Regions from separate parts of the Homo sapiens genome. Here regions 1, 2, 3 and 4 are each linked to region 5. The links are contacts of gene promoters, found by promoter capture Hi-C in blood cells and fetal thymus (Javierre and others, 2016). All regions are on one chromosome and are shown on one strand. The core of a region is centred on a gene start or on the middle of the fragment in contact, and the rest is flanking DNA. Distances in the headings are between cores, read along the strand shown.

What was found. Contacts are between HindIII fragments. The CHiCAGO score rates a contact against its expected background, and 5 or more counts as called.
Region 1: a contact is called between a fragment that was not itself captured here and the fragment with the promoter of PCDH19 in region 5, in 1 of 17 cell types (M0 macrophages). The highest score is 5.6, in M0 macrophages.
Region 2: a contact is called between a fragment that was not itself captured here and the fragment with the promoter of PCDH19 in region 5, in 3 of 17 cell types (total B cells, naive CD4 T cells and naive CD8 T cells). The highest score is 6.1, in total B cells.
Region 3: a contact is called between a fragment that was not itself captured here and the fragment with the promoter of PCDH19 in region 5, in 1 of 17 cell types (naive CD8 T cells). The highest score is 5.7, in naive CD8 T cells.
Region 4: a contact is called between a fragment that was not itself captured here and the fragment with the promoter of PCDH19 in region 5, in 1 of 17 cell types (endothelial precursors). The highest score is 6.1, in endothelial precursors.

The regions. Positions count from the first base shown.
Region 1 is chrX:95,761,786-95,765,808 of GRCh38, reverse strand. No RefSeq gene overlaps it. Among named protein-coding and RNA genes, the nearest start is that of MIR548M, 700 kb to the right of the region's middle. The HindIII fragment of the contact is 4,443 bases long and covers 1-3,796 here.
Region 2 is chrX:96,758,894-96,762,850 of GRCh38, reverse strand. All of the region lies in intron 4 of DIAPH2 (diaphanous related formin 2), which reads right to left. Among named protein-coding and RNA genes, the nearest start is that of DIAPH2, 76 kb to the right of the region's middle. The HindIII fragment of the contact is 866 bases long and covers 1,786-2,651 here.
Region 3 is chrX:96,371,186-96,375,024 of GRCh38, reverse strand. All of the region lies in intron 1 of LOC105373294 (a long non-coding RNA gene), which reads left to right. Among named protein-coding and RNA genes, the nearest start is that of DIAPH2, 310 kb to the left of the region's middle. The HindIII fragment of the contact is 4,195 bases long and covers 1-3,839 here.
Region 4 is chrX:97,016,679-97,020,691 of GRCh38, reverse strand. The region is part of intron 17 of DIAPH2 (diaphanous related formin 2); the gene reads right to left. Among named protein-coding and RNA genes, the nearest start is that of RPA4, 130 kb to the right of the region's middle. The HindIII fragment of the contact is 6,977 bases long and covers 1-4,013 here.
Region 5 is chrX:100,408,871-100,412,753 of GRCh38, reverse strand. PCDH19 (protocadherin 19) reads left to right here and starts at 2,481. Exons shown (of 6, transcript NM_001184880.2): 1 at 2,481-3,883. The HindIII fragment of the contact is 4,339 bases long and covers 299-3,883 here.

The sequences.
Region 1 (4,023 bases), core at 326-2,825, 4.6 Mb after region 5:
TATTGAACAACCCCTTTCTCTATCCCCTGCTGCTGACTGTGTAGTAGGCGATGGGACATTTCACTGATCGCTTCTGCATTTGTATTAGGATCTTCTTTTTCTTGTTTGATTTAAACCATAAAGAACTGTTGTTGCATGCTGATGAGACACTGGGTAAAGTCTCCAGTTAGGTTTTTCTTTTTTTCATTTAGCTAATTTGTTTCAGAAAGTTAGACACCTGTCTTGCTTTTAATCAGGATCCTCTAAGGTCAGTTAAAATCATTTTCCCATAGCTGTTTAAGATGTGCATGTGGCTGGCTGCCTGACCAGGTGAATAAGTAAACATTTCAGTCATTGCTCATGAGAATAAATCACCTTGCTTGGATGGGGCTTGGAGAGAAAAGTGAATCAAATGCCACAGAGTCTTAACTGTAGCTGTCTCCCTGCTTGGTGGAATGCCTCCATCCTTTGTGATGCAAATAGTAATTTATTTCTTCCCAACAGCAGGTCAGCCACAAGGATTTAGTTTCCTTCCAAGGTAGGGGAGCTGATTTAACCTGCCGCTATGCTTTTCTACAAGATTCTTATTTACAACAGTTTCTTAATGAGTTATGTCAGAGTAGCTGCTGGTATGATCCTTTTGATATCAGGGCCTGTGAAGCAGAATGGTTAATGATGAACGCCTTGCTAGTTTCAGTGAACATTACAGAGTGACTGACTACAGCACCATGGACTAGATGCCAAACTCATAATAAATGGAACAGTGCCACCTTTTGGCCATAAAGTAGGGACACAAACTAGGAAGGCTAGGATTCTGTAAGTCACACAGTTTATTTAAAACTATTTATGACGGATTTAGTGGTCATGCAATCCTCAAATAATAGCAACCAAATTCTATTTTTCTCTTTATTTTCTTCCTTTTTTCCCCCACTGTGGCAGTATCTATGCTTTGACTGTATGCATTTCATATAATAATGATGCTTTGGAGAGGCTAAATTTTGCTACATTCCAATTATGTTTTGCACAAGAATGAATTAAGCATGCATTATGCAGATAATATGAAGGATAACATGGTTACCATTGTACATATAGCAACTTCTTTTATACAGTGACAACTAGTTTGTGGAAACTTTTGGAAAGAATTTTGAAAGAAGGCAATTAATTGAGTATTGCAGTATTTGTTTATGATTGTGAATTGGACACTGATTTTAATTTAAAAAAATATTTTGGGTCTGCCTTTTTCTTTCCCTATGTATTGTTTCTCGTGAAGCAATAACACACCAATTAATTTGAGTATAGTTAATCAAAAACATTCACACATTGAAATTCATTTTTCTCTATCCATTTTTTAGGAACATTTTATTTTGTAGAGCAGTTTCAGGTTCACAAAAAAGTTGAGAGAAAGATACAGATTTCCCATATACTCCCTGCCTTCCACACGTGCATAGCCTCCTCTGTCATCAACATTCCCCACCAGAGTGGTTTGTTAAAATTGGTGAACCTACACTGACATATTGTAATCACTCAAAGTTCATATTTGACCTTAGGGTTCACTCTTGGTATTTATTATACATTTGAAGGGTTTGGATAAATGTACAATGTTATCTGTCTACCATTGTAGTATCCATACTCAATTTTTAGAAGAAAGAGGCAAGTTAGCAGACAGCTTTGTGATAGTAAGGGTTTAATCAAGAAAGAAAATCTCAGGGTATGTCATGACAGATATCAATAAGCAATCAGCCCAATTTCCTATACCATTTACAGTTTAGTCGAAGTCAAATGGTGATAGATGTCCAGAACATGAAAAACTTGTATTCTATAATTCTAAAAAAATTCTAAAATAAACAAAAATATGTTCACTGGCTACTTACTGCAAGACAAAAAGTTTTTTTGTGTTCAAAATTAGTGCATAGCTCACAATCCTAAAAGAATATTGCAACATTCATTTAAATTTTCTTTTTATAAAAAATTTCCCAAATATTTTCTCATATCAGTTGTCACTGCATAAAATAAACTTCCATGCATACTGAAACATTTTTAAAAGTTTTTGACATTTATTAAATGAGAAGTTTAATCTGCATCTTAATGGTAAATTATTGGAGACAGTTTCCCTCCAATCTTAAGTGGACATTTAGGCATTTCAGCAAAATTGGTAAAAGTTATTTTTGAACTATTGGACCTTTCCAACAGTGAAGGTTGATGCTTATTCGACTAGACATAGGACACCTTTTCAAAGTGAGAGAGGGTGAAAACTTGTTTCTGTGGGTGACTTAATGGCTCTTATTCAAATGCCACCCACACCTTAGGCCTTCTATTGGATTGATGTATTTAATCATAACCCTTGGGCTGGCTCCTGAGGCTTTTCCACCTAGCTTCTATATTTTGGTGTTATCATTCTAGACAAAGTTTTAAAATGAGTAGAATGTTTGCTTTTTTTTTTCAAATCATCAATACTATGTAATCCAGCATGTTTCCCATTGTGTCTTAGTAGCTAGAAAATGAAGAAAATGTCAGTCCCAAACAGTAGTAACTAATATATCTCAGGTACCCAAGAACATTAAGTTTCTCCAGATCTCTTTGATGATCCCTATTCTGTTTATCATATTAATTATCATGAATTGCATTACACTTTATTTTGATAGGTTTTAGTCACCTCAGGCTGCCGTAACAGACTGGGAGGCTTAAACAACAGAAATTTATTTCTCGTAGTTCTGGAGGCTGGAATGTCCAAGGTCAGGGTGCCAACAAAACAGATTACATCCTGAGGCCTCTTGGTTTGTAGGTTGTGTGCTCACATGACCCCTTTCTTTGTGCATGTGCAGAAACAGAGAGAAGACAGAGAGAGAGAGAGAGAGAGAGAGAAACAGAGTGAAAGAGCGAGTTCTGGTGTCTCTTCTTATAAGGGCACTAGGGGGCTCTACTGTCATGACCTCATCTCATCCTAATTACCTCTGGAAGGCCCCATCTCCAAATACCATCACACTGGGAGTTAGGGCTTCAACATATGAATTTTGGAGGGACACAATCATTCTATCAAAAACAGATAGTTTCTTCAAATCCTTTAGGAAATAAATAGGGCTCAACTATAAAACTCTAAAATATCACATGTGCAAGAGCTTGTGTTAGGCACTGAAGAAGATAGAAATATATTTAAAATAAGAATTCTACTTTTGAAGAGTTTTTACTTGTCATTAAAACAAATGCAAATACAGTCATACAGCCCATAATGTTTGGGTCAATGACAAATCACATATGTGATAGTGGTTCCTTAAGATTATAATGAAGCTGAAAAATTCCTGTTGCCTGGTGGCATTGTAGCTGTCAAAATGTCATAGTACAAAACATTGCCATGTACTTATGGTGATGTCAGTGTGAACAAACCTACTGTGCTGCTATTCATATAGAAGGACAGCACATACAATTATGTACAGTGTACAATACTTGATAATGATAATAAACGATTACATTACAGGTTAATGTATTTATTACTATTAATACTATACTATACTATACTATACCTTTATGATTAGAGTGTACTCCTTATTTAGAAAAGAGTTAACTGTAAAACAGCCCAGGCAGGTCCTTCAGGAGGTATTCCAGAAAAAAGACATTGTTATCATAGAAGGTGGAAGCTCCATGTGTATTATTGCCCCCAAAGGCCTTCCAGTGGGACAAGATGTGGAGGCAGAAGACAGTGTTATTGATGATCCTGACCCTGTGTAAGCCAGGCTAATGTGTGGGTTCATGTCTTCATTTTTAATAAAAAATTTAAAAAGTAAAAAAATAGACAATTAAAAATTAAAAATAGAAGAAAGCTTATCAGATAAGAATATAAAAAAGAAAATATTTTGTACAGCTTCACAATATGTTTGTGTTTTAAGCTACGTGTGATTACAAAAGAATCAAACAGTTAAAAATTTAAAGTTCATAAAGTACAAAAGTTAGAGTAAGCTGCTTATTTTGAAGAAAGAAAAATTTTTTTTAGTAAATCTAGTGTAGCCTAAGTGTACAGTATTAATAAAGTGTACAATAGTAAACAATAAT
Region 2 (3,957 bases), core at 969-3,468, 3.6 Mb after region 5:
GAGGATTTTTTTAATGTACTATAATGGGCTTCTCATATAGTATAATCTAAATATCAAGTTATGCAATGTTAAGTGTAATCAGGCATCAGATTTTTTTACCAGCTCATAGTCCCTGAAAAAATTATCAATAGAAATTTTGTTTTTTCCAATATTGCCTTTTCTTTTCTTTCCTTCTTATGGCAGGTATACTATCAAGGTTGAAATAGTACACCTTCTTATGGCAGGTATACTATTAAGGTATTTTAGTATATAAATGTTACATTTAAAGTCATGCATTAAGTTCAGAAGTAAACTTTAGGTTGAAAACAAATATTTTTTATTGTTATAAATTTAAGGTGTACGATACTGTTTTATATTATACTTGAAAATTATAAAAAAGATAGATTACTTATTATTCTAGTTTTCTAGGTAATCCTAGCATTTCTATTATAAGATCAGAATTTTCTACATAATGTGAAGACAAAGAAGCATTTTACATCTAAACATGCACATGTTCAGAAGGAGGAAATAGTTCAAAAATTGCAGCTCCAACTGAGCTTTCCTAATGGATAAGTGATAAAAGAATTTCTGAGAGGCAGAATTGTGTTTAAGAAAGCAGGAAGTAAACTCATAGTCCTAAACATAATTTTATCCAAAAATCCAAATATAAATCAAATCACTGTTATCAGATTCCCACACTTGAATATCAAGCAGTGTCCAAAAAACAGCTAAGCCACAATACAAAACCATTAATCCGATAGCAGTTATTATCAAAATGTGTTCTATTTTTCAGCTAGTGCTTTAAAAATAAAAATCAAATTTAACTGAAACCCCAGTAAGAATCCTATGTTGAAAAGGATATCATAAAATACAAAAAGATAATGACAGTTTCCAAGTAAATTATTTCAGAAGAATCCATGAATCTCAGAATACAGAAGCAGCTTTCTTAAATATTCATTCAGTAGACTATTTACAAGCAGTGATTATTTAGTTGAATAAAAGCCTCTTTGGTGCCATTAACAGTCTTCTGAATTAAAAGATATGCTATTGACCTCAATTATTTCCTCCCACCGAAAAGACAGAGGTCGTATTTGTCCCTTGTTTATTTAGCACAGACATGAGACTAACAAAAGAATGTGAGCCTGCGTTAACAATTAAAGCAGGTCTATACTCAGTGAAACAACCAGAATATGGCCCATTTAATGATTCATTTGCATTGCAAAATAACTGCATTTAGCTAAAGCACAAACGGCAATAGATAAGATTTAGTACCCAACAGAAGCTAAGAGAAAATATTTTGGCCATGTCTGGGTTCAACTGTTTGATCATATCCAGATCATACCTGGAAAAGAGCTGAAAGAGTATCTGATAATGACAAAAGCAAAACCATAATACATGTATACACATACACATATAGATATACTGCAACTTTTAACTACTCATTATACAGGTCAGTCTAACAAATCTGCAGATGTAGCTAGCACCACTATTTTAAATTATTTCCTACTGAGATTAAAAAAAAAAAAACCAATGCTGCCTCTCAATGGTTCACATGTCTTAAAAAATATAACTTTACATATTTTAAAATTTCAAAGATTATGATTTAAATTCAAAATAAACCAATCCCTTAACATTCTAGGAATGACACTGGCATTTGACAAACTAACGTTGGGACTTCGGTGAATAACTTTTCCTCATAAATGTCTATATGTGCTGTTAAGTGCCCGTGAGATCCCCTCTAAATTACCAACATATTGTTTCAGGATTACCAATCGGTAGGACAACTTTTGCAATATTAACAAAGCTTGGTTTTCCATTTTCTGAAAACATATGCTGGTGTTTTGAAAATATAGACTCTTCCAGGTTATTTGTGGTCAAATTATCTACATATTCCTATTACCCTACGTCAGATCCATAACTACGCTTCCTACAATGAACAATGGAGGATAAAATGCAGAAAGAAGGTTCTTCTCCATCCCTCTATTTAAAGTTCATTCATCATGGACAGAGTTATTCAAACTTTTTCCTTTAACATTCACACAATTTAACATTCTCTATTATGGGACTTCGAGAAGAAAAAACTAAGCAATAGTTTTTATTATTATCTTATGGTTTCCTTTATAGTCTCCTTTTCCATGCTAATTTTAGCAAAGTTAATTATACGACAAAAGACTCTTGTTTGCTTTAGAAACGAGTTTTGACCACATATTGGTGTATAGCTTCATTTTACTTTTATGTCCTTACTCAAGAACCCAGGAGCATGATAGACATTTCTATCTAAAATCTGGTTTTAGATCCCATACAAAATGATTAATGCAGGTGTTAAACGGGGAAAATGTATGATTTACGTTTAAATTTCACTACAATTCTCACATGTTTTACATGTGACTATAAAACATTTCTCCACCAGGGACTCTAGCTCTTAACTTTGCTACCTCAAGATGAAAGCTGTGACTAACTAGAAAGCATTTTCATAAAGTAGTGGTAACTATCATGTCTACTCTAAATGCAAACTTTAGTGCTGTGATAATGAAAAGGTAAAAAGGTTAGATTATTGTTTGTCACTGAAGGCCAACCCTCTCACCTTCAAAAGGAAATTACATAACTAATTTTTGTGGTTTTAATGATAGAAAACATAGTACTAATTAACGTCTTTCCAAGATGAGAAAGCTTCAAAAATGCTTGTCAACAGGCTTTCTTCCATCATAGTATCTGGCCCACGAAAAATATTAGCAAAAATATGTATAATCCTGGAAATCTTATCAGAGTGCTGTGCATATTTCAGGTGCTCATATGTACACTGAATGAAACAAATAAGGGCCCTTAAGTAGTTCTGATTTTGAGGCTAATGCCTTAAACATAGAATTTTCATGTCTTTTGAGGAACATTGAATTTCCATCTTTTGAATAATGCAGTTCAAGTGAGCTCATCTAATATTTATCCAATTTTTTGCATTTTAATCTGAAAAATCAGTATATAACTTGAAGTGTGCATTTCTTTGGTCACTTGAAGAGGAAATAATATGAGAATAAATGAAAACAAGTTCTGCACAGAAATCATGTAATACTCAAAAGGTCAAGGAATAAGAGTTTCATATAATCATTATATTCAGTCCCACTTACACAAACAACAACAAATGAGCCAGAGACTCTAACAAAATCTTATCATTAAAACCACCACATGATTATTCATATGTTATTATCTGTACTTTGCACTCAGATTCAGTCATATAGATTTACTAGTGTATCAGCCTTTAGGTCTTTGAAAAATAACATTGAATGTACATCCTGCATTTCCTAAAGCATTTTATGGTGAACAATAACTTGAGTGCAAAAATGAGAAGAGATTCATCAGAATTTCAAAGTAAAACCCTATGCATCACCTAATTCTATTGAAAACGACGCTCATGGCAAATTTCACTTATCACTTGAAACATATTTCTGCCCTTGGATACCAGAAGCAAATTTAAAAACATGCTGTTGCTCTGCTATGGCGGAGCTGCAATGTGTTATGTTTAAATAGCTCAGCATTCAGATTTAGCTTGTTTCAAGTACAATATAGAATCAATACAATCGTAGAATTCATGGCAAAATGCATTAGTAATTGCCACTGGAATTGCTGTACTGAAATAGCATTAATAGGATAGCCAAATAACTTTAGAATATATTTTTTCAATGAAGACTTGTTTTCTGCAATGGTCAACTTATGAAATTTAAAACACATGACCTAAATAGTGTATGTGTGTGTACATGCATATGTATACACACAAAATATCACTGTGTGTGTATACATATATATACACACATATACACACATACAGTGATTTTATGAACTCTAGGTATTAAAAGCTTTTTCTTTACAGAAATGTAAAAGATGCATTTTGCTATTTCAAAAATACAATTTTTTCTTACCAAAAAAAAAAAAATCAAAGCTTAAGACTATATTTGGAAGTGCATTAGGAAGAGAACAGAGCAAAAT
Region 3 (3,839 bases), core at 528-3,027, 4.0 Mb after region 5:
TACTATACGGCATAGTGCCTGTAGCTGACAGTACTATATTGTATATTTAAAATTTGCTAAGAGGATAGATCTTAGTGATCTTACCAGAAGAAAACCTCCCCAAACAAATGAAAAACTCCACAGCACAATAATAATAAAGGAGCAGGGAGGAAACTTGGAGATAATGAATATTTTTATGGTCTTGATGGTGGTGATAGTTCCATGGGTATATATTTGTCCCCAAATTCATTGAGATGTAGACATTAAATATGTACAGCTTTTTATATGTCAATTCTACCTTGACAAAATGGTTAGAAAAATAGGAAGAAGAAGCCAGAGATAACTTTTAAAGAAGGCAATGGTCCTCATGGCTATGCGACTCTAGAGCCACATCCACAATCGCCATTCCTACTGCTTCTTCATGTCTTGTTCTTCTCTGCATGAAATATACACATTCTTTCACATGCCCACAAAATGAATATGTCACAAAATGCCTAAATTTAGTGAATTGACTTATTGCATCTATTTATTTTGCATATCCAGGACAATGCAAGAGAAAATGCAGGCTTTTTTCATAAAGAAGCATTTTCATTATTGAAAAGAGGACCTATATGTTATATGGTAGCCACATTTCTTGGAAAATTGCAAGAAGGACAGATGAGATCTTTGACATTAACCCTCTGCAAGGGTAGTCCTTTGCCCATATATAAAGGGGAGATGAATGTTTGGGCAGGAAGAGGGACAGAGGGGCAATGTGGCTGACTTGTGGTCCAAGATATACTCTTCCACTCTTGGGGGACTAAGATCAACAGAGAAATATTTCTGTTTAGCTGGTTTCATAGTAAGAACCACATATGATGAGAGACTGTAGTTACTATACTTTATTATCATATAATACTCTTATACACAAATATGAGCTGCATGCCAGAAAGTCTTTGTATTAGTCAAGATTCTCCAGAGAAACAGAGACAATAAGATTCTTTTCCTTAGGATATGTATGCATATAGAAAAATTTTTTTCTATATGCATACACATCCTATTAGGAAAAGAATTAACTCACATGATTATGGAGGATGGCAAGCCTAAAATTTAGAGTGTGGGCCAGCTGGATTGAGACCTAGGAGAGCTGATATTCCAGTTCCAGTAGGAAGGCTGGCAGCCTAGAGACCCAGGAAAGCTGATGGTGCACATAAAATCTGAAAGCAGTGTGCTGGATAATTCATTCTTGTTTGGGCAGGCCAGTCTTTTTGTTCTATTGAGGCCTTCAACGGATTGGAAGAGGCCCACCCACATTACAAGGATCAGTCTGCTTTATGCACAGTTCACTGATTTAAATGTTAACTTGATTCAGAAACACCTTCCAAGATGACACATACAATTAAACATCATAGTCATATAAGTCATGGTTTTCTCTATTTCATTGTGGAGGACACAATGTGTGGGGCAATGGGCCTCCTCTCAAGGCATCCACTGGAGCCAAGCACCTGCCATATGGAAACTTTCTATCATTGGCAGAGACCATCTGTTTTATTTTTGGGCATTCGGAAACCACCTAGCAAAAGAAGGTCCTAAACTCTTGAATGGTTTCTATTTCTGAGATTATATAATAAGCACTTGCATGCTTCCCATCACTCACAGTGCTGAGGGTGTCCATGAGACTATTTCCTAATTCCTACTTTTCCCCCAACCCAAGTATGATTTATCCTCCTTATCAATACAATGTCGCTTTATTTTCAGATTCGTCATTGTGCAGTTTATCACACTCCATGCTGTAATACAGGTAGTTCTGAATATGTTGTAGCCACCTGTCCTTCCTTCCCCCTCTCCCCACCACTAATTTATGAGCTACTTGAGAGCAGGTATTGTGGGTCACTTATCTTCATGTCCCTCATTACATCTAGCAATGAGCCTTGCTCACAGTAGGTGCTTAAACGGTATTGGTTGAAATTAGTTGGATTGCATTTGTGGGGCTCTAAAATAGTTCTGACCAGCGCTTACTTGAAGTAAATTGGAAAATAGTTTTCTCATAAACTATAGCCTGACAACCAGAGCCCTAGCATTTCAAATCTTGATCCTTGTGTTCCTGTAGCTCCTCCTAGTGGGAAGGTTGCAAAATTTCTTGGCTGCAGGATTACTGCAGCCGAGTTATTACTGCTAGAAACAACAGGAACCACCACCAAACGAAACATAAACCCTTTGTAGGAAATATATATAGTTTAAATTTTTACCTTTTTTAAGGTTTATAGCTGGGCCCAAAGTTTCTAAAAGGTCTATTCAGCCTCTGTGAGAAGCAACTGGGGTTATTTTCGGAGATGTAACCCATGGGTATTGATATACACCACGGCATTCCTTGGTAGCCAAGCATAGGGCTAAGATGAGAACTATTTGGCTACTTCTTAATATTTAAGTGGATGAGCAGCAAACATCTTTCTCCGTCTTCCTGAGCTCCATTCTGCAATTGCAGTGCAGCAGGACGACAGTGCATTTACTGTGGCATGCTGTTGGCCCCATGCACTTCCCCCTTTCCCCCATAGATCTCGGCAGTGCCTTCTGCTTTGGTCCTGACAGGTAGGTCAGTTGGTTTCAGTCTGCCTGGCTGATTTATGCTGCTTTAGGATCCCTTAAGCCTATGCTTCTGGTAGCCTGTACTTCAGATAAAAGTGTTTTTGATTTTTGCATTTCTCTATAGAAACCATAGCCTCTTTTCTTTAATCCCAATGTTTTCAGGGGATGTCTGGGCATTATGTATGCATGTTTAATGATTCATACTCCTAGGATTTTGAGTTTGTTTTTAACTGAACTGTATCTGTTCTCTTATAGAATTTTAGAAGTATTAAAAATAATGTAATAAGCCTTTGCAATGTCTGTTTTTAGGAGGTTGATTGCAGTAATTTTTTTAAACCAACTGATGCACAGTATACAGTACATTCCCCAAATCTGTTGTATATAGGGTAAAAAAATCTTCAAATGGAAAAATCTTCCTTCTTTGCTGTGAGCAAAATAATTAACTATTTGACCACTGATCCATACCAGTGAATGTGATGCCCCTTAGCTTTTCTGAGGTTATGCATAACTCTTGTCTATCCAGCTTCATAAACTGTGGAGTAGGCTTTCTGGAGACAAAGATCTGAGAGTGAACATTATAACATGAATCAGCCCTAGCTACAAATTTGATGTAGTGTTTGCTGGAATTGACAGCAAAAGACAACATTAATCCACATACTAGTGCAGCAGTGGTTTCATTTCATCCCTCTGCAACTACGTGACTTGGAATATATTTGTGTTTTCATTTTATTTCAGTGCCTTTGAGCATACAGTATGGTACCTTTTTTGAGCCATGACATAGGTTTGAAGCAATACAGTTTATACCTGTGCAGTACTCCTCATTAGAGAAGTGTTTCTCGGTTAAGATTGTTGTCTCTCTACCTGGAAACATAAAACATAAAGTCATACTGTAAGGATAAAGACTATCAATGTATGGTTGGCTCAGTTAACTGGAACCTCATGTTCACTCTTCTAGGTATATTCTGCTTTGTCAGAATCTCTTATGTGATCTTGGACAAGGTATATGATTTCATTTTCTACTCTTAGATTAATTATGTGGGATTTGATTGTATGTTGCTATATTTACCCTGGAGTTAAATATGTGTTCTCCTCTTCATTTAATCTAGTGATTTCACATTTGATTACCAAGAGATAATTAGAGATGGAAGTTCTGTGGTTGCTGGGAAACCAATCAACGATTTAAAAAATTTTGTTACAGATTATTATACCCACATATTTATTGGCAGAAGATAATAATTTAATAATTTAATTGGCAGAAGAAAAACTAGAAGTGGCATTTTTTTCAGGGAAAAAAT
Region 4 (4,013 bases), core at 454-2,953, 3.4 Mb after region 5:
CATTAGTCGCTTAGTAGTTGTCTTGGTTATCAAATCAACTGTAGAGGTAACATGCTAGTGTTCAAGTAACCCTATTTTATAACGGCCCTAATGCACAAGAGTAGTGATGCTGGCATACTGTTTTTATTGTTCTACTTTATTATTATAGCTGTTAGTTTCTTACTATGGCTAATTTACAAATTAAACTTTGTTGTAAATACATACGTATTTGAAAAAAACATAGTATTTACAGAGTTCGGTACTATCCGCAGTTTCATTGTGGGTTTTATATCCCCCTGTGGATAAGGCAGGGCTACCGCATTGCTAATTAGAAGTAGCGAGGACTAATGTATTGTTAATTAGAAGCAAGTTCCATAAGATATACCTACATGCACACACACATGCACACACATACACAAGTAGCTGCAGAGAGCACTAAGTAAATTAAGAATTGTGTTCCTGAGTCAGCGCAAGCAAGGGCTTATTTATATAGTATGCTTCAGGTTTATTCTCACTAGAAAATGTTACAAACAATGACATTAACCATCCTTTGTTAAAATGAATTGATACTGAAGCCTGTGTTAACTAGATTACCTGAACAGAGAAGTGAATGGGTCAACTGCAGCACTGCATAGCCAAGAGCTTGAATTTTCCTTGTCCTTTAGGATTTTTTTTAATCCAGTTGATGTTTCAGTTGAAATGGCATTATTGCCATTAGCTTTAGGGTGCAGGTAGATTTAAAATACAGGAGTCGTGGCATTACAATCTGATGTATTCCCCCAAGGATCTGTTTCACATAATGATGCGACAATCCTAGTCTTTTGTGATTTTTATAACTTCACTAACAGCCTTAGTTTTTTTAGCAGAAGACTTTCTTTTTATATTGCCAATGAAAAATTTATCATTAATACTAGGAATGGCATCAAAATGGATAAAAACTAATGTTAGAAAATCCAAGTGAAAATCTATTAATGCCTATTACATATTCAGAGGCAAAATCTTGTTTTAAATTATTTGGATGATTATTCTAGAGAAGTATGTCTTAAATAATCATTGAACTCTTAGAATATATATATTCCGTATATATATTAGAATTCCATCCATATATGTAGAATATATATATGGAAACATTATTAAATTTAAAACTAAAATAGCACTGGCCTCAGGTTAGGGGAGGCAAGGAATATGCAAAGGAGTACACACACTTAAGAAATATGTGATTGTCAAGGATCTAGATTTTGTATTGGGTGGTGAGGTCAGAAGTACTTACTATATTATCATAAATAACTAATTAAATAAAAAGTCACCCTCAAATCAATGATAAGAGTGGGTTAAGAACAAAGGGATTGTGATTAGTTCAATTCTATTAATCCGATATCAAAAAACAAAACAAAATAAAACTGGAGGGATAGGGATAAAGTAGCACCAGCCATATAAAAATAAACATACTCTTACCATGATTGAGCAGTCATACTCCTTAGTATTTATCCAAATGAGTTTAAAACTTATATCCACACACACAGGAAAAACCTGAGCACAAACGGTTATGGCAGCTTTATTCATAATTACTAAAACTTAGAAGCAACCAAGATGTCCTTTGGTAGGTGCTGGTACATCCACACGGTGGAATGTTATTCAACGATAAAAGAAATGAGATTTCAAGCCATTGGAAGACATGGAACAACCTTAAATGCTCAGTGAAAGAAGCAGAAGCTCAGTGAAAGAATCCGGAAAGATTTAGGCAAAACCATGAAGACAGAAAAATGACCAGTGGTTGTCAGGGGTTTGGAGGGAGGAATGAAGGCATGAATAGGTAGGGCACGGAAGATTTTTAGGGCAGTGAAACCCATCTGTAAGATACTAAAATGGTAGATACATGATGTGTCAAAACACATAGAACTATATAACACAGAGAGTAAACTCTGAACTATGGACTTTAGTAATGTACCAATATTGATTATTGTGTAAAAAATGTACCACACTAATACAAGATAATAATAGGGGAAACTGGAGAGCAGGGAGGAGATGAGCATATACATAGGACTTTCCATGCAATTTTCCAGTAAACCTAAAATGCTCTTTAAAAAGTAGTCTGTTAATTAAAACAATAACAAATAGAATATAGCACTAGTCATTCGTGAATGGCTAATTAAGCTCATGGGTTTTTAATATATCACTAATTTCCTCTATTAAAATCAATGTATCTTAAGCAGGATTTAAAAGCAAAAGTATATGTGGTATATGTTGGTCTACTGGCAATGCTGTCGCAATAGCAGCAAAGCAAATGCAGTACTTCTCATAAAAATAAAAATGAAGAACCAATAATACCTGAATCTTGTTTTACTACCTTATTTGACAATGTCTGAAAAATAATTTTTAAAAATCACCCCAAAATGTTATAAAATAAACATGTACATATAAACTTTTACACTGAATTTTTAAGATGCTAGCCTCTCCTGTTTCACATATGAATAGGCAAATAAAATTAGAGGCCTGTTAACATGACAAGACAGCTGCACTTTATTTAAAATAATTAATCAACTGAATATATATGAGCATATGATGTTGGTGTGAAAGGAAACTTGGGGCATTTAGCCTCCTCCAGATCTGGTCTTGTAAAATACAGAAACATATTTTAAATGCATAAGTCAGATTAATAAATGCAAATGCTAAAACATCTTATGCTAACTAATAACTTCCAACATGTTTTGCAAGCAGCAATTTCCTTGCTCACCTAGGCAACTAAGATCCTGCTATATTTATGTGTTTCTCTCGAGTCCTGGCTCTCCACCATGCCATGCTGGCACAAAGTACTAAGTATAATTAATTTGTGGCAGGTCAGCTCCACTCACATGGCTTTTCCTCCTTCTATTAAGTTTATTTGGATTTCATGAAGATTGTGCCAGTAATTGGGAAAAAAGGGCAGTCAGGTAATTTCTTTTTAAGTCACACTACTGCAGCTGTCTTTTCTATCACATCATCATTGAAACATTTGAAAGGTGATTCATTATTGGGAATCACTTGCACCTCCAACTGCCATCGAGCTGCGCCATAAGATCACAGGTGGAGTCTAAAAAATTAAATTACATAAAATGGAGACTTGTGTTATCTTGAATTTAGTTAAAAACCATATATTTCAATTTATCTATATCATCTCATGAAAGCATTAAAACAAGGACAGTGGAACTTACATTGAACATATATGACTGTAAAATGAACAAAGAAGGTCCCAAATTCTTGAGGGTCACTTCCTAACTCTTCCTCCCCATTCAATGCATATGTGAATTCATGTTGTTGCCCAGTGCTTTATTGAAGTTTTACAGTATTTATGACCTTTCACTTAATGTACTATTTATAATCTTCCAAAAAGTAGTGTTCTTCTCTCACTACCATCAAACAAAGGAGAAAAAAGATAATTCTAAACAACTAATGTATAGTAAATAAAATTCATAGAGAAAAATAAGACTAATGATATTTACGATGTTTTCCTCAAAGGCCTATATTAAAAATATTTAGTGATTATCAAGTTTGTATTGAGAGACACACTTCAGGGTTAATGTTTTCTGGTAATTATGTTGACAAATATTAAAATAAGCACTTTCCAGTAGATGTGCCTAAAAAATTCCTGCAATTTTCTTCAGGCAGCTCCAAGGAAGGTGTTAAAAACAGAAGTAGTGCACAGCTTCATACCCACCACCATGATGGAGGCCCGTGACACACCTCACAGACTGCCAGTCGTGCCAAGGATTTAAAAAATAGTCACATTCAACATTAACCAGCAAGACTAGACCACCACCACGTTTCTCCGTGAAACTGATATATTCTCTTTCTTATCACACAACCATGAAGACTTGCAGCATGAGCTGAGGCAGCTATAAACAAAGTAGATGGGCATAATGATGTAAGCAATGATATACTTTAAGAGATTAAAACAAATTACATTATGGTGGGACAGCTTGGAAACAACAGAAGCCGTGACAACAGTTAAATACATAGCAGCTAAGAATTGGGCAGCTCCTTTTGAGCAATTTTCT
Region 5 (3,883 bases), core at 1,232-3,731:
GCACTCCCTAAGGTAAGAGGTCTGCAGTCTTCTTATCTTGTTGTGTGCATCTTTTCAGATGCTACGACAATGTTAATCATTTTACCTGAGTAATTCTTCCATTTCTCGTTACCTGGGGGATTGTTAATGGCCGAGACTACTTCTCAGACTCTTTGCTCCCGCTCAATCAAGCCGTGGAGGCGCCAGTTTACTTTTATTGATCAGTGGGTTCCTGACAGCCTTCGCCACAAGGAAGCAGCATCATCCTTTTTTAACTTAAAGGGGGAACAGATCGCCTTAAAGTTTACAGCTAAAAGCTTCTAAGCATAGCATGCAAACATTTTAGCATGCTGCTAATTGTTCTGTTTAAATAGTCCAAGCAATATTTTAGAAAGCTGCCAAACGCCGAATTCACATCCCGTGATCAGATAGCAAACCCATTTCAAATGCCTTTTTAGGCCTTTTTAATTAGACCAAGATGCACTTCATTCCCATGCTCTGACATCAAAGGTAAATAACTGTGATAAATCAAATGGAACCCTTCCTTTCGCGGAGCCCGCGAGGTGCGCCCACCGCTGCCTGCCATGTTGTCATTCTCTACTACTTGCCCATTTCTCCAACGGTGTCTGGAGAAAACCGGTCGGGCCACCGGGCTCCCTTGAGCCACCACTCTGGTGTCCACCCGCAGCTCTAAATGACCAAAATTAAATGATACTCATTGCAGAAGCATCGGTTTTCTCCCTGTTGTTCTGGGCCGAATCACATCCTAACGTGAAACAGTGAAACGACCCCCACGCGGAAAGCGGATCAGGCTCCCTACGCTCTCCCTTTGGCCTCGGCTACATATTCAGGGGATCGCAATCTCACTCGCGAAATAATTTCTTTCTGTAAGAGGAAGCCGCCTTTCCCCTCTCCCACCGCCAAGGTAAAGGCTGCTAAAGTAGCTCTTCTTGGAAGGAAAAATATTTTAAAAAGCAGCTGGGTTGCTCTCCACAAGAAGATGGCAGTTTTGAGAAAACCCATTATGTGTCCAAATGCCGGTTTCCTTTTCTTGTTTAACGCTTTTTAGAGGGCAAAAATGACGCTCATGTGAAGCCCACAGGCTCGAGCCAATGTCGCTGGGCTAATTATGAGTCTGCTTATCCCACTCCCAAATATCCGAGACGACTCACTCAGAAGACATTTTTACTCTTCCAAGAATTGTGAATTCAGAAGCAGCTTCCCCACATTCTAAGAGAAAAAAAAACTTGTTTAACGGGCACGTTTTTGATTTTTTTGCCGCTGGCGACCTTAATTAAAAGCCTCAGAGCCCGGGTGGGGAGGAATGCCCCGCTGCCCCCAGGGAGCCTTCAGTGCAGAAGGCAGGATGAGCTTGATGTCAGCCCTGGCCACGCCGGCCTCCCGCTTCCCAGTACTGGCACATGCCGCAGCCACCACCGCCGCCCAAGTGGAGCTGGCAGCCCCCTGGGACCGAGACCCCGCGGGAAGGCTGGGGCGCCCTGCACATCGGCGCCGGCTCCCAGCTGTCGGCGACCTAAGCGGACATGTATGGCGTGCCCGCCCCAGAGCTCCTGCCCGGCTTTGAGCTCTGCTGGCTTGGCGCGGCGCGGCGGCGTCCGCTCCACCGGCTCTTCTCAAACGTACAGTTTATTTATAGGGAGCTAAATTCTCCAACAGGGTGGGGTGAGGGGCAATGAAATGTGTCCGGCCCCCTCCGTAGCTCATTCTCTGTGCCACATATCCCATTTGATTAACAAGCAACAGACAAGAGCGAACCGATCCAGGGGCCCTGCTGGGAGTGCGGCACGCAGAGAGTAGTGCGGCGTCTGCCCGGGGTGGAAGGATGGGGGTGACGGTCCGGGGGGGTGGCGGCCGTGGCTCTGGCCTGATGTGAAGACACACCGGCTAAGAGCTGGATGAATGACCACCTCAGGGGCGCTTTCTCCTTCCCTTTCTTCCTTCCACTACCAGAGAATGAGAAGAGAGGAAAACAAAAACAGACGATTTTTTAGGGTGAAGAGACAAGGAGAAATAGAGGGATATATATATGTGTGTATATATATATATATGTGTATATATATGTATATATTATATTCAAGATATGAAGATATGTAAGGGAGGTAAACACGATAAGACAATCATATCATCCTCATCTTTCCTGAAATCTCTGCAAACATGAGAAGCGCACAGTTCCCGGCGAGGCTCAGCCGCAGCGCCAGCACACCGCCTCCCTGCTCATTCCTGCCCTATTGCTCCTGCCTGGCCTGCCTGGCCTGTCTGTCCGTCCTCCCATGAATCCCGCCAGGGCTCCATGGGCCGGGGTACCACTTGGTCCCGCCGGTGTGAAGTTTCCGCTTGGCCCCGCCCCCCCGCTACCCCCCGCCTCCGCTTGGCCCCGCCCCAAGACTGGAGCCCGCTGGCGGCGCGCTGATTGGCCAGGGCCTGGCGTAGCCGGGCTCGGCAGCTTGAGCTTTCTCCGGCTTTCTCCAGACTCCGCGGCCAGTAGTTTGCGGCATCCGGAGGAGCAGCAGCAGCAGTAGCGGCGGCGGCTGGCGCAGCGCGGAGACGGACGAGCGGGCACAGACGGCAGCACAGCTCCCGTGCACCATGCCTGGCTTGCCCGGGAGGCACTGGCACCCGCGTCCCTAGCCCGGCGCTGGCCCTTGGCGCGTTGCGCTCCGCAGCATTCCGGCTGAGCGATTTCATCCGAAATCCTAAACCTCCTACCCCAAACCCATTGCCTCCTGCTTGCTCATACTCCACACTCACACTCCCCACACCACACACTCACTCTTCCTCTCTCTCTCACACATTCACACACAGCCCGAGACAGACAGAGAAAGCGAGACAGACCTCCCGAGTGCGCGAGCGCCCGGGAGGAAGGGAGCCCAACGCAGCGCGGCCAGCGCCTCTCCGGGAAGATGAAATCAAGACGCTCCTGCAAGTAAACTTCGGCGGCGACAAAATCGTCGACTGTGGCAGCTGCTGAGGCGGACCCCAGCGACGTGCAACTGAGCTAGGAGGGCTTCCTCCCGCGGCGGCGGCGGCGGCGGCGGCGGCGGCGGACCTTGGAGCGACACCCCAGCCCAAACGGAGAGAAGAGAAGCACCCGGTACCCACGGCGGCGGCCCCGCCTCTCCTGGCCGGTACTGTTGTTGCCTCCCCTTCCCTCTTCCCCATTCCCCGCCACCCCCGGCCATTAGAAAGACCGGGGCTTTGATTTTCTTGGACAAATTGCCATCTCCCCGTTTCCACAAACTTGACGTGGAGGGTCGGACTGCGTTGTTAACTTTGATTTCCTAGACGAAAACGCCCGCAGACCCTCAACTGCTCTGTGGGGGGAACTCCGCTCCCACCTCGGATCCTGGACAGACGCGCCCCCAAGCCCTTCGAAGCCAGCCTTAGCGCGAGGGAGCGCGCTCAAGCTCTGGCAGCCTCTCTCCCCTCCCCCTTCCTCTGCTGGCCCCGGGACCGCCATCCGACTCAACCCTATAACCGGGTGCCCGCGGCGCTTGCCAGTAACTGACTCCCGTCTGCGACACCCCCTTTCTCCCGAACAGGCCTCGAAGAGGCCAGTGTGGCCCCCCCAGACCCCGGAGGGCGCATTCCAAGCGGGTACTCTCTCCGCAGTGAACTGGGAGCGCTGGGGGGAGGTCTTTGCGCATGCCAGGTGCACAGACAGCGAGTTCGCCAGCCTCAGTGCCGGTGCACCGCGGCGGGCCGGGCAGTGCCTGAAAGGCTGCGCCTCCTCCGCCCTCTTTACCTTCGCCTCAAGTACTGTCCGGACTCAGCGGTGCGTCCTCCAGGCCGCGCAGACGCCGCCCGACCCGCAGCCCTGGGCGGCTGCCGACAGTCGCGCCCGGCTAACTTTGAAGGGGTAAAACTGAGTAGCCGGGCTGGAGGG